Linked DNA regions of Homo sapiens: region 1 is linked to region 2. The links are contacts of gene promoters, found by promoter capture Hi-C in human tissues and cell types (Jung and others, 2019). All regions are on one chromosome and are shown on one strand. The core of a region is centred on a gene start or on the middle of the fragment in contact, and the rest is flanking DNA. Distances in the headings are between cores, read along the strand shown.

Region 1 (6,216 bases), core at 1,679-4,178, 440 kb after region 2:
TATCTCCATAAAAATACAGAAACAGTCTATTGTAAATACATGTAGAGACCAAAATGAATGAGAATAAAATGTGGCATAATCTGAGGGAAATTTGACTATTTAAAATTCATATTGGCATTTTGAAATTCAGTGTCTGAATATTTTTATCTTCTTTTAAATTCCTCTTGAGGATCATTCTTTTTATGTATTATTTGTTTAGTCTTTTGTTAGACTTTTCCCTCTGTGGCAGCTCGTCTTTTCTGCTTATTTTCATACTTCTCTTGTTTGTCAGAAGATAGTGTGTGTGTTACACGAGTAGATACTTGTGTAGAATATTCTCATTTTGTGGGTTTTCTTGTATGTTTCAAAGAGAAGGGAGGAATGAAAAAAGGCATGTCACAGCTCTCAGAGTTAAAATATACTCCCCTCCCACAATCTATTTACACATTCACGTGTATTTTTTGCCTTTAAAAATATTTCTTCTCGGTTATACATCCAATAAAATTTGAGCAGGAAGCAAAAACGTAAGTGCTGCTTACTTGGAGATATAATTAGCAGCATTGAAATTGCCCTGATGACCTAAAATCACCCTACACTGGATGCTAATTTTCTCAGATATGGTTTTGTTTGCTTAGTTTCTTTAAAATTTTCATGCCTATAAAATAATTTTTCTTTTAGTAGAGCACAGTAGAAAAAAAGCTGATGTAAATGATTTGAAAAATAATATTGAATTTAATTTGTTTTTATTGTTACGTGATTACTTTGGGGTGTTTTATATCATGAAGTCTTTAGATTAGAACTGGGTTATTTGTGTTAATGTTAAATCAGAAGAGATTTTTGTAAGTCCTCCTTATTTTTTTCTTAGTGCCAATTTCTGTAAAATATTTAGCAATTGAGGGCATGGTAAAAAGCAGTTTCCTGTAAAGTAGATTGGGATATGAACATTATAGAAAAATGAGAAAAATTTAAAAATATTTAGTGCTGTAAATTGACTCCTTCGTGACTCAAGCATTTTAGAAAATGTTGATTTAAGTGATATAACTTCTATTTGCTTGAATGTATATGTAAATCATTTTAGTTTAAGTGGTTTTAGTCACCCCCCAAACTATTCTGATCATATTTCTTCAGCAAAAATCTTTTAAACATCTAGCTGTATATAGATGTGTATTCATTTAAAAATTATACATATATGCCATGGTGAAATCATGTATTAAATATTAGTAGTGTATAATTTTGTTCTTACTTTCTACTGTTGCCTTTTTGTACCACAGTTGATTCTTTTTCTCTATGTGGTATACACAACACGATTTTGGTGACTAGTCATTTACATACAGAGTGAAACTATGGCTATTCTTAGCCTGGCCTTCTAGGGGGCTTGAGCTTTCAGTGTGGTGCTGATCTCAAAGTCTTCCCCGGAATACTGTGTCTTCTGTGGTATTAAAGCAACTACTTCTGAATATTCTGTGAAAAATAGAAGAGACCAGAAGATTCCACCTGGGAAGTCACGATTGACCAGTGATGTCTACAAAAGGCTTGCTTTGTGGCTGTGTGTGTGTGTTTTCATGTGTGGACGTGGACAACACAGAACTATGTAGTTGCTTGTAGTGCTAATGAGTAAATAGATAATGAACATGAAGGCACATTAATCTCTCAGCAGGTTTTTATGTTCACTGATGAAGTAAGGTCACATATTATTTTTCATCTACATGTACAGCTCCCTGTATTTAGAGGTAGTTAAGGTTGAGTATGTGGTTTTTTAGAAGACACTGAATGGAGTGGTGTATTTTCGACCGGTTGAATTTTGTATTTTTTACTCTCAAACATTTCCCCACCTTTTTTTCACAGGAGAACCCTGCTCTCCTTGGACAATTAAATCCTGAAGTGATCCAGGGCAATGGAGATTTACTTTAACATGATCTGATTGTTGAGATGTGTGTATTTTAAGGTCAACTCTTGGATTCCCTCAGTTTCTCTCAATAACCAACTCATACATAGATTGTTTGAACCATGGAGCTCAGAGTCATGACCCTCTAGTCTGCAAGTTAGAATTCCCACTTGATCATATGAGTTGTCTCTTCTTGGCTTCATGAGAAAGTCTTGGTTAGATTAGTACAGAAACTGTGTGAAGGTTGAGGTTTAATGGAGAAAAATGGCGTATGTAGATGGGTTTGCCTCCATCTAACCCTCTCTATGGATGCTGTAGGTGTGTTTCCTGGGAGCTGTATGGATACCCACACAGACTACTTTCTCTACTCTGCGTTTGTTTCTGCACTTCCTAGTCAGGTCAAGATTACAGACAAAAGTGAGACGGGATCAAGGAGAAAACACCTGCACCCCTGCCTGCCACTATCAGACATGATTCCTGTGGCTTCCAAGAGCACAAGTGCCATTTTAGAAAGCTCTTGGACCTCTGTTTTGCTGTAGTTCCCCAAGTTGATATGTGTTGTCAAAATTATGTTTTTAAAAAGTTATCCAATTAACTAACATTTTCTTAATCAGAAAACTCATGCTATCAATGACTTGGATAAAGTCAATATAATTAGCTAAAAACAGTATAATTAGATCTGATGCAATGCTTTGTCACTCACTTAAAGAATAACTAATACATTCTATAAGGTAGCATTTTAAAATTCTTTTATAGCCAAGATATCATTATCATTGGTGTATGTCTAGAAGTGTAATACTAGTACAAATCCGGAACAAATAGAAGGTCCTTCTGAGATGGAGTTGAAGTAGTATTAAGGATACGGATAAAAGGTCTCTTTTATTTGTAGAGTATTATTTGATAATTGTAACTTAAAGGGTTGATGATTTGTGTTTTCCTAGAGGCAAAGTTTATTAAATTTCAAGTGGAAATTTCCTAGCTGTAGGTACTGCTAGATTTTAAATGTGCAGACATAGCTCCTTCCTCTTACTCTTAACTGTGATCACTACCAACTTCTCTTAGTATATTTGGTAGTTTATTTTTAGTTCTCTAAAATAAGTAATTAGTAGAGTTCCTACCATAGAGATAAAAGAATGTAGAAAATGTTATGCCTTGGTAGCTTTCTCAGTTTCACAAAGCTTATTCATTTCTGGGCGAGGTAAATGAGTCCAAATAATTGAAATTGGAAAGGATGTGAAGTGCATCAGAGGGTTGCTTTTCATTTTTCATCTTCTAGTTTGTTCAGTTCTGTGGAACTCTAAAAAGATTAATTTATAACAAAGCTCACTTATAAAAGCAGACAGTGCCTTTTAGTGCTTAATAAATAATAGGCTTATGTGAAAGTATGGCTTCATAAAGTTAAGCAAGAATTTTGGAAAAACATCAAATGGAAGAAGATGTTGAACTGTTTGCACAATAGACAACTATTTTGTTTTTATTTTAACAGAATTGAGAGAAAAATGGCTGACTACAACAATAGAATAACTGTTAGCTGTTATGATGGGAAAATATCTTGATACTGCTAGTACAGTTTCCTTACATTTTTAGTATTTTAGAGTTTACAATGTGTTTTCTCATATATTACATCATTAATAAATGTAATATTAACAATATTATATTATCTTGTGTCCTTAAGAGATAGATAGGAAAGAAATTTGTTTTGCAAGTCAGCAAGTGAAGGAACATGCCAGTAGTTAGTTGCTCAGCTAGTATGCGGTGCAGCTTGTGTTCAACATAGATTTTCTGCTTCAATAGCCAGTGTCTCTCTACCTGTAATTTTAGATAGAGAATTTTTGGAATTATATTGGGATAAAATGGGTCACTCAGTATAGAAGATATAGAAAGAGAGATTACATTAACTAAGTAATAGATATTGTTTTGTTCTGAATTATTTCCATATGCATTTCCTTGTCTAAAGAAATTTCACCTGCAGTCTCCTTTAAAACATGAGCTGGAGCATGAGAACATTCCATGTTCCTTTAAAACATGGAATTCTGGAGAATGAGGAGATGTTGGAAATCATCTGATTCAACCATTTCATTTTGGACATAAGGAAACAGAGATAGTCTATAATGGATGTTTTATTGCTGACAGCTTTTTTTTTTTCTTTTTTTGAGACAGGGTCTCTGTCACACAGGCTGGAGTACAGTGGTGCTATCATGGCTCACTGCAGCCTTGACCTCCTGGGCTCAAGCTATCCTCCCGCCTCAGCCTCTCGAGTAGCTGGGATCACAGCTACTGTGCATGCCACCACACCGGGCTAATTTTTTTGTATTTTTTTTGTGGAGACAGGGCCTCACTATGTTGCGCCGGCTGGTCTCAAACTCCTGAGCTCAAGCAATCTGCCTGCCTCGGCCTTCCAAAGTTCCTGACAGTTTTGAGCAGGTGGCTATGTACTTGTTTTCCTAGAAGTTTAAAAGTAAGGAAATATATTCTTTTCAAAACTATTTCGATGTTCGATGTTCAAGTATTGGCTATATAATGTTAAGGAAATAAAGATTTTTAAAAATGAGTTCATTTTGCACTTTGATAAGAAAGATGGATTGGGTCATTTCCATCCATATTAAAATAGTTGGTTCTGGTTTTTGATTTATAACTTAATTTGGTTTGATTCTTAACAGTACAAACGTTAAATTATGTGTTCATTGAACCCAGTTCTCCATACCCACATGTAGTTTTTTATCATTATATTTAAAAGGACATAATAGCTCCCTAAGAAAGAAACTGAAAGGAGTCAACTAACTTAACAGACTGAGTTGTTTAAAATAAGAAATATGTATATATTTTTAAAAAATTTAATTCAAAGAACATGTATTGAATGGCTGTCATGCATCAGAGATATGTGCTAAGCAGCATAAATGTAAAATGCAGTGTTGCATTTTCCATGGGAAACAAGGAAGTACAAATATGTTGTTCTGAGGAATTTTAGTCGTTCACACGAGTCTAGCGTGAGACTAAATTCAAACAGTTCTGGCTTTGCCACTTACCAGTTATGTAACCTTGGCAAATCCTTCCACATCTCTGTGTTTCAGTTCCCTTTTCAGAAGATAGGGTTGGAATTAGTCTCTCTCTCTCTCTCAATCTACACACACACACACACACACACACACACACACGCACATGCACACACACACACACACATAAGGTTGTTGTAGGAGTTAAATAAGTTAATATTGATAAAATGGTAAAAACAAAGCCTGGCACATATCTGCTATGTGGGTTGGCTACTGTTGTTACCGTTACCACTATTGGTAGGATTATTCTCCCACCTTGATTGAGTGTGGATCAAATGAGATGATCCACCTGACATGCCTAGCACAGTCTCATGTCTCTTGGTTGTGGTGATGGCATCATAATCTTCATTATCTTTATCTCTGAAGTAACCCTTACATCTTAACAAGGATGTTCACATTACAGTCGCCCAGAGAATTTTTCCAAAGGATTCATGCCCCTGCAGACTTTGACTCACTGGGGTTCAGATGCACCCTGGTCACCCCACTGCGAAGATGCCATAAACTCCTGCTTTCAACAGTGAAGGAGAAAATAAATCTTTGAAATTTTCCCTGGGGTTGTTATTTTCTCTGAGTCTCAGCTTGAGGAAATGCAAGAAAAAACTTCCCTTGACCAGTGGGGCTTGTGATAGAAGATCCTGTAGGATGCTCCTCAATTTATGAAGCCTTTTCTGGATTATAGATTAGGCTCTGAGATGGCCCCTAAAAATCTAGTTAACCCACAAAGAAACTGATATAATGCTGATTGACATAAAACCTCATATTAAAAAGAATCCTATTCCATTGCCAGAAACTAAACAAAGCAAAGGAAAGAAGTCGTCTTTACTGTGAGTGATACAGGAGGAAAAACAAACATGGTTGCTTAGTAGAGGATGGAAAGAAATACTGAGAATTTTAAATGTACTTCTGGAAAGTATACATTTTAAGAATTATGCTTTTTGGTGCCATCAGTTTTGAGTCTAAACTCACCCCCCAAAATCCGAATTTAGTATTCTTGGTATAAATCTAGTATTAATTATAGCCGGAAAAAAAAAGTTCTTGATTCTTGGCTCAAAAATTTTATAAAATGAAGAATTTTCCTTTTTCTTCAGGGTAAATGTTGCAAGAGTTAAAGAGGTAGAGAAAAGGGGGAACTTTTTTAGTTGAAAACATTATCTGATTGTGTATTTACTCTGGGTTCAGAATTTTAAAAGTCTAGAGTGTAGCTGCACCTACCCTGGCATCCTGCAGGCTAGGGTGGTTGTAATATAGAAGTACGGGAAATGCAATTTGCTCTGTAGCTTTATTCTAGGATTTTATAGC
Region 2 (5,375 bases), core at 1,661-4,160:
TCACCTAACCAACTGCCTTCATGACAACTTGACAACTCCAAACTGAAGGTGTCCAAAATGCCACTCTTAATCCCCAGCAATCTTCACCTTTCCTCCCCATCCACAATTTACTTTTTCAGGCAGTCTTCTCCATGGATTCAAAGGTTAATCTCAGCTGAGCATGGTAACTGATGCCTGTTAACCCAGCACTTTGGGAGGCCAAGGTGGGAGGATCACTTGAGCAGGGGAGGTCGAGGCTGCAGGGAACCATGATCATGCCACTGCACTGCAGCTTGGGCAACAGAGTGAGCTGCTGTCTCAAAAAAATTAAAAATGTCATCAGCAAGCACCCTCACAGACACACCCAGGATAATGTTTTACCAAATATCTGGGCACCCCATGGTCCAATAAATTTGACACATCAAATTAACCATCACAGCTTTCTAACTCGTTGGCCTGTTTTAATCTTTGTCCTTTAATCTGTCCTCAACAAAACGGTAGATTAAAAAAACAACCAGCAACATCATTTAGCTTCTCTGATAAACATTCTTCAGTCTTCCTGTCTCAATCAATGTAAAATGTAAAGACTATCATGACTACCAATGCCCTACATGCTCTACTCCCCACTCCTAGCCCCACCACCATCACTCTTCCTGGACTCTGTTTTGCCCACGCTGATATTTCTCCCAGAAGCCCAGCATGCTCCTGCCTCGGGGCCTTTACATCCACTGATTCCTAGGCTTGAAATGATCTTAATCCCAATAGCTGCATTGTTTCCTCCCTCAATGATTCTCTTATCTTAGATGGCTTTGCAATATACCCATTTTTAAAAATATAACATACCTCATCCCTCTTATTTTACTTTCTTTTAAAATAAACTGTATTTTTTAGAACCGTTTTAGATTTACAGAACAACTGCAAAGGTAGTACAGAATTTCCATAAATTCCATTTCAGATTTCCCTATGATTACCATCTTACATTACATTCCTCACAACTAATTAATCAACCTTGATTCTTATTACTAATGAAAGTCCATGCTTTATTTAGATTTCCTTAGTTTTTCCCCAAGTCCTTTTTCTGTCCCAGGATCCCATCCAGGATACCACATTACATTTAGTTTTCACGTCTCCTGAGTTTCTTCTAGGCTGCGGCAGTTTTTCAGACTTTCCTTATTTTATTTTATTTTTTGTAGAGACAGCATCTGGCTATGTCGGCCAGATCAGGCCTCGAACTCCTGGCCTCAAGCAATCCTCTCGCTTCAGCCTCTCAAAGTGTACGGATTACAGGCGTGAGCCACGTCTGGACTGTACTTTCCTTACTTTTGATAACCTGACAACTTTGAGGAATATTGGTCAGGTATTTTGTAGGATGTTCCACTACTGGAATTTGTTTGATATTTTTCTCATTATGAGACTGAGGTTATGGTTTTCCAGGAGGGAGACCACACATGTAATATGCCACATTCATCACATCATATTGACTACATGCCATCAATGAGTCACGATTGTTGACGTTGGCTTAGAACATCTGGCTGGGGTAGTGTCTGTCGGCTTTCTCCATTGTAAACCTACTGTTTTTCCCTTTCCACATTGTACTATTTTGGAGGAAGTCACTGTGCACAGCCTAGGGTACATGATCTACATAAATTATTTGGAATTATTCTGTATAGGAGATTTGTCTCCTCTCCGCCTTTTATTTATTTATTCAATTATTTATTTATATCAGTGTAGACTCATGGATTTTTTTACTTTGGCTTGTAATCCAATACTACCTTGTTTAGTTTACTTCGTTGCTCAAATGGTTCCATCTTTGGCAACTGGGAGCTTTCAGGTGGTTCCTGTGTCTAAACATTCTGCCATCAAGGCAGGATTCGTTCTTTAGTTTTATTTTTTTTCTTCTCATTCAATTGAGACAGCGTCTCATTCTGTCGCCCAGGCTGGAGTACAGTGGCGCGATCTCGGCTCACTGCATCCTTGACCTCTCAGCCTCAAGTGATCCTCCCACCTTAGCCTCCCGAGCAGCTGGGATCACAGCGTGCGCCACCACGCCCAGTTAATTTTTTTATTTTTTGTAGAGATAGGCTTTCACCACATCGCTCAGGCTGGTCTCAAACTCCTGGGCTCAAGAGATCCTCCCCCTTCGGCCTCCCAAAGTGTTAGGAATACGCGCGTGAGCCACCGCGCCCGGCCCGATTTTTCCTTTTTTGAGTATCACTTCCTTACTTTTCAGCCTCAGCCTTGTTTTTCAAGGTGCTTTACCACCACCTGGCACAATCCACACTTTCTATTTATCCCTCCCCGTTAAAGTGCCGGGACCTGGAGGGTGGGTCTTGGCAGTATTTTTGAGCGCGGTGGGCACACAAGGGGACGCTCAGTTGATATCCAGAGAATGATGAGCCCGGCGGGTGTTGAGGCCGACTGGAGAGAGGTTGGTCGGCAGGGTTCTGGGAAGGCGGTGCTCGGCCTCCGTGTGACCGCAGGCTCCTCGCCCGCGTCCTCGAGGGTCCCAGGGATGCAGGACCTGCCGCAGCTTCCGCAGCCACACCCACGCTCAGAGACGGCTTCCAGCGTCCTCGCCGCGGCAACGCACCGGACTGCAAATGTCACCAGCGCAGCGGGGATTCCCGGGGGAAGTCCAGCGCGCTCCCTGCCCTGGGGACCAGAGGACGAGCGGAGGAAGTGTCTTGGGCGGCAAACATCCCACTCCCCGCGCCGGTCCGCGCAGCCCGCGGGAACGCCCCTGGGCTTGCGGGAGGGGCTGGAGCGCGTCCCCGGCTCCGGGCGGTCCCGAGCGCATGGACTCTGGGTGGGGCGGGAACCCGCGCTCTGTGAGCCGGCTGCCGCCGCGCCCCAGCGCTGTCATCCCGGGGCGGGGCCTGGTCCCCAGCTGTGGTCGCTTCCTAAGCGGCGGGGGCTGAGCCGGCGGCGCCCAGATGCGGCCGCGGCGGCGCGGAGCTCGGGCGGCCGTGGAGGAACTCAGCCTCGGCCGCAGGAGGCGCCGGGAGCGGAGCCGCCGGGAGTCGCGCAACAGGTTTCCTTCTCCATCGCTGCGCCCACAGGGGACGCGCGCCCTGCCGGGAGAGGGGCTTCTCGGTTCGCACTCTCGCTCCCAGTCCAGGTTTGTTTTTCTCTTCCTGAGCCCCCATTTCTCTTCCTGACTATTTTCCCCGTGCGCGGAGAGATCGGGGAGGGCGGGTCGGGGCGGGGGCACTGTCTAGGCTCGGGACCCGCGGCTGTGCCTTAGGTGGGATTTTGGATCTGGCGCAGGTCCTCACGCCGCCTCTGGGCACCTTCGGAAACACAGCATTGGGTTTCTCATATAAAGCAGAATGATTTTTTAAAATTACTTTTAATTTCAGAGGCTGAGGGACTTAGGATTTAGTGCTTCGTAAGAATTATTTTAGGGATACCTGTTGGTAGGCTGCCTTTATAAAGTGTCCACCCAAGACTACTTTTATTTTAAATCGAAAGGCTGGAGTGTTTTTTTATTATCACCTCTTCACTTCCTAGTAGGGTGACTGTGTCAAAAACACCAGAATGGGTACTTCTTGACTTGAACTTGGCGGTGTCACTCAGTAGCCAGGAAAGACGGAGAAATTGATAGAGCCTTCGAGGAGTCCCTTCGAAGCCCACGTAAGACTTTGTTTTAGAAACATGGAGAGAAGTAGTGGCAATGCCTGCGAGAGCCACGCCGTCCTGAGAGGGAATTCTGCCTTTTTCTAGACTCCGCTGACACCAGCTGAGATCTGTATTACTTCCTGTGGTTCTCACGCACTTGTTTCAGCCGTTTCTCAGCAGAGGGAGGAGCTGTTATTTACAGGTATCCAAAAATGAGTCACAGGGCTGCTCTCTTAATTGTGAGACTTTGTTAATGAACTTTTGAAAAGCGAGGCTTGCTTTAAAATGAGACTCTAGATGTGAAATGCCTGCCCTGCCAACCTGGGGCAGTGGTATGGGAAGTGACGATTGAGTTTTCAGTTTCCTAAGGCGCCTGATGTTACAACATGCCAGTAAAGGTCACTGGGCTGATCTAAGATAACCATTGAAATCATGTGCTTTGCCACAGATGCCCAAGAGAAAATTAATTTCATTATTCAATGACCATTTTGCTGTCATTTTCACTGCATGGGAGAAAGGTATCATTTAATGTGGTGATTGTAAGTAACTCTCTAAAATCAAAATATTTCAGACAGTTTGTGTTTACTAAATTGGTGCTAAAACCACATGATGATTTTTGAAGCGGGTGGGTCCCAGCGGGAGCAGAGAAATTTAAAAGTTGAAGCTGACAAGTCCTATTGCGGTGGGTAACAGCCCTTAGGAAGGGACTGCACACTATCTCAACACGGTAGAGAAGGGGACACCATCTCTACTGGAGCTGAGTTGAGCTGAATTCAGCCTCAAACAACAGTTACCAGGTACCTTCTCTGTGCCAGCCTCTTCCCTGAACCTTGCTTGTACAACCATGAATAATAGGATCCTGCCGGCAAGGTACTAGGGTAAATCTATACCCAGAGTGAAGTTTCTGTGCCAATATAACTCAATATGCTGGGTCCCAGTGTATTTAAAGAGTAGACTCAGCAGATTATCACCCCTAGATAATTGCGGTCACGATTAGTTGATAGTGTGACTTTTAAGAAATAGTGTGACTAATTAATAGTTTATTTAAATATGCTGGAAAATTCAATATAATGAGATAGGTGCTAGGGTAAATCTATACCCAGAGAAAAGTTTCTGTCCCAATATGACTGATGTTTCTGAAGATCTGGGATTTGGAATGGACTGGGTCATGGCTGGAAGAGCAAGGAAACTTTTGAGTTTAGTCATTTACTTGTCTTTGTAGGCAGCCTATTCTTCATTTGATACATGATTTAAAAATGTATGAATTTGAAAGGTATGGTTTTTAAAGTGCTTGAATGAACCATGTTTCATGTTATTTAATAACCATGTAAAACGAAATTCAGCTGATTATCACCCCTGGACAATTGCAGTCACCTTTAGTTAACAGCATGACTTTTAGGAAATGGTGTGACTAATTAATAGGTTGTTTTGTTTTGTTTTGTTTTTTGAGACAGAGTCTCACTCTGTTGCCCCAGGCTGGAGTGTGGTGGTGCAATCTTGGCTCACTGCAACCTCCACCTCCTGCGTTTAAGCAATTCTTGTGCTTCAGCGTCCCAAGTAGCTGGGACTACAGACACCCACCACAACACCCGGCTAATTTTTGTATTTTTAGTAGGGACAAGGTTCGGCCCTGTTGGCCAGGCTGGTCTCGAACTGCTGACCTCAGGTGATCTGCTTGCCTTGGCCTCCCAAAGTGCTGGGATTGCAGATGTGAGCCACCATGCCCTGCCTAATAGTTTATACATTGGTAACACTATATTGAAGCGAGTTTATGATCA

The links. Contacts are between HindIII fragments. The study calls those that stand out against the background at their distance.
Region 1: a contact is called between a fragment that was not itself captured here and the fragment with the promoter of STX11 in region 2, in 1 of the 25 tissues and cell types used here (heart left ventricle).

Annotation. Positions count from the first base shown.
Region 1 is chr6:144,585,857-144,592,072 of GRCh38, forward strand. All of the region lies in intron 51 of UTRN (utrophin), which reads left to right. Among named protein-coding and RNA genes, the nearest start is that of SNORA98, 180 kb to the left of the region's middle. The HindIII fragment of the contact is 3,686 bases long and covers 1,086-4,771 here.
Region 2 is chr6:144,147,607-144,152,981 of GRCh38, forward strand. STX11 (syntaxin 11) reads left to right here and starts at 2,911. Exons shown (of 2, transcript NM_003764.4): 1 at 2,911-3,097. RefSeq lists a silencer at 2,598-3,037. The HindIII fragment of the contact is 13,668 bases long and covers 1-5,375 here.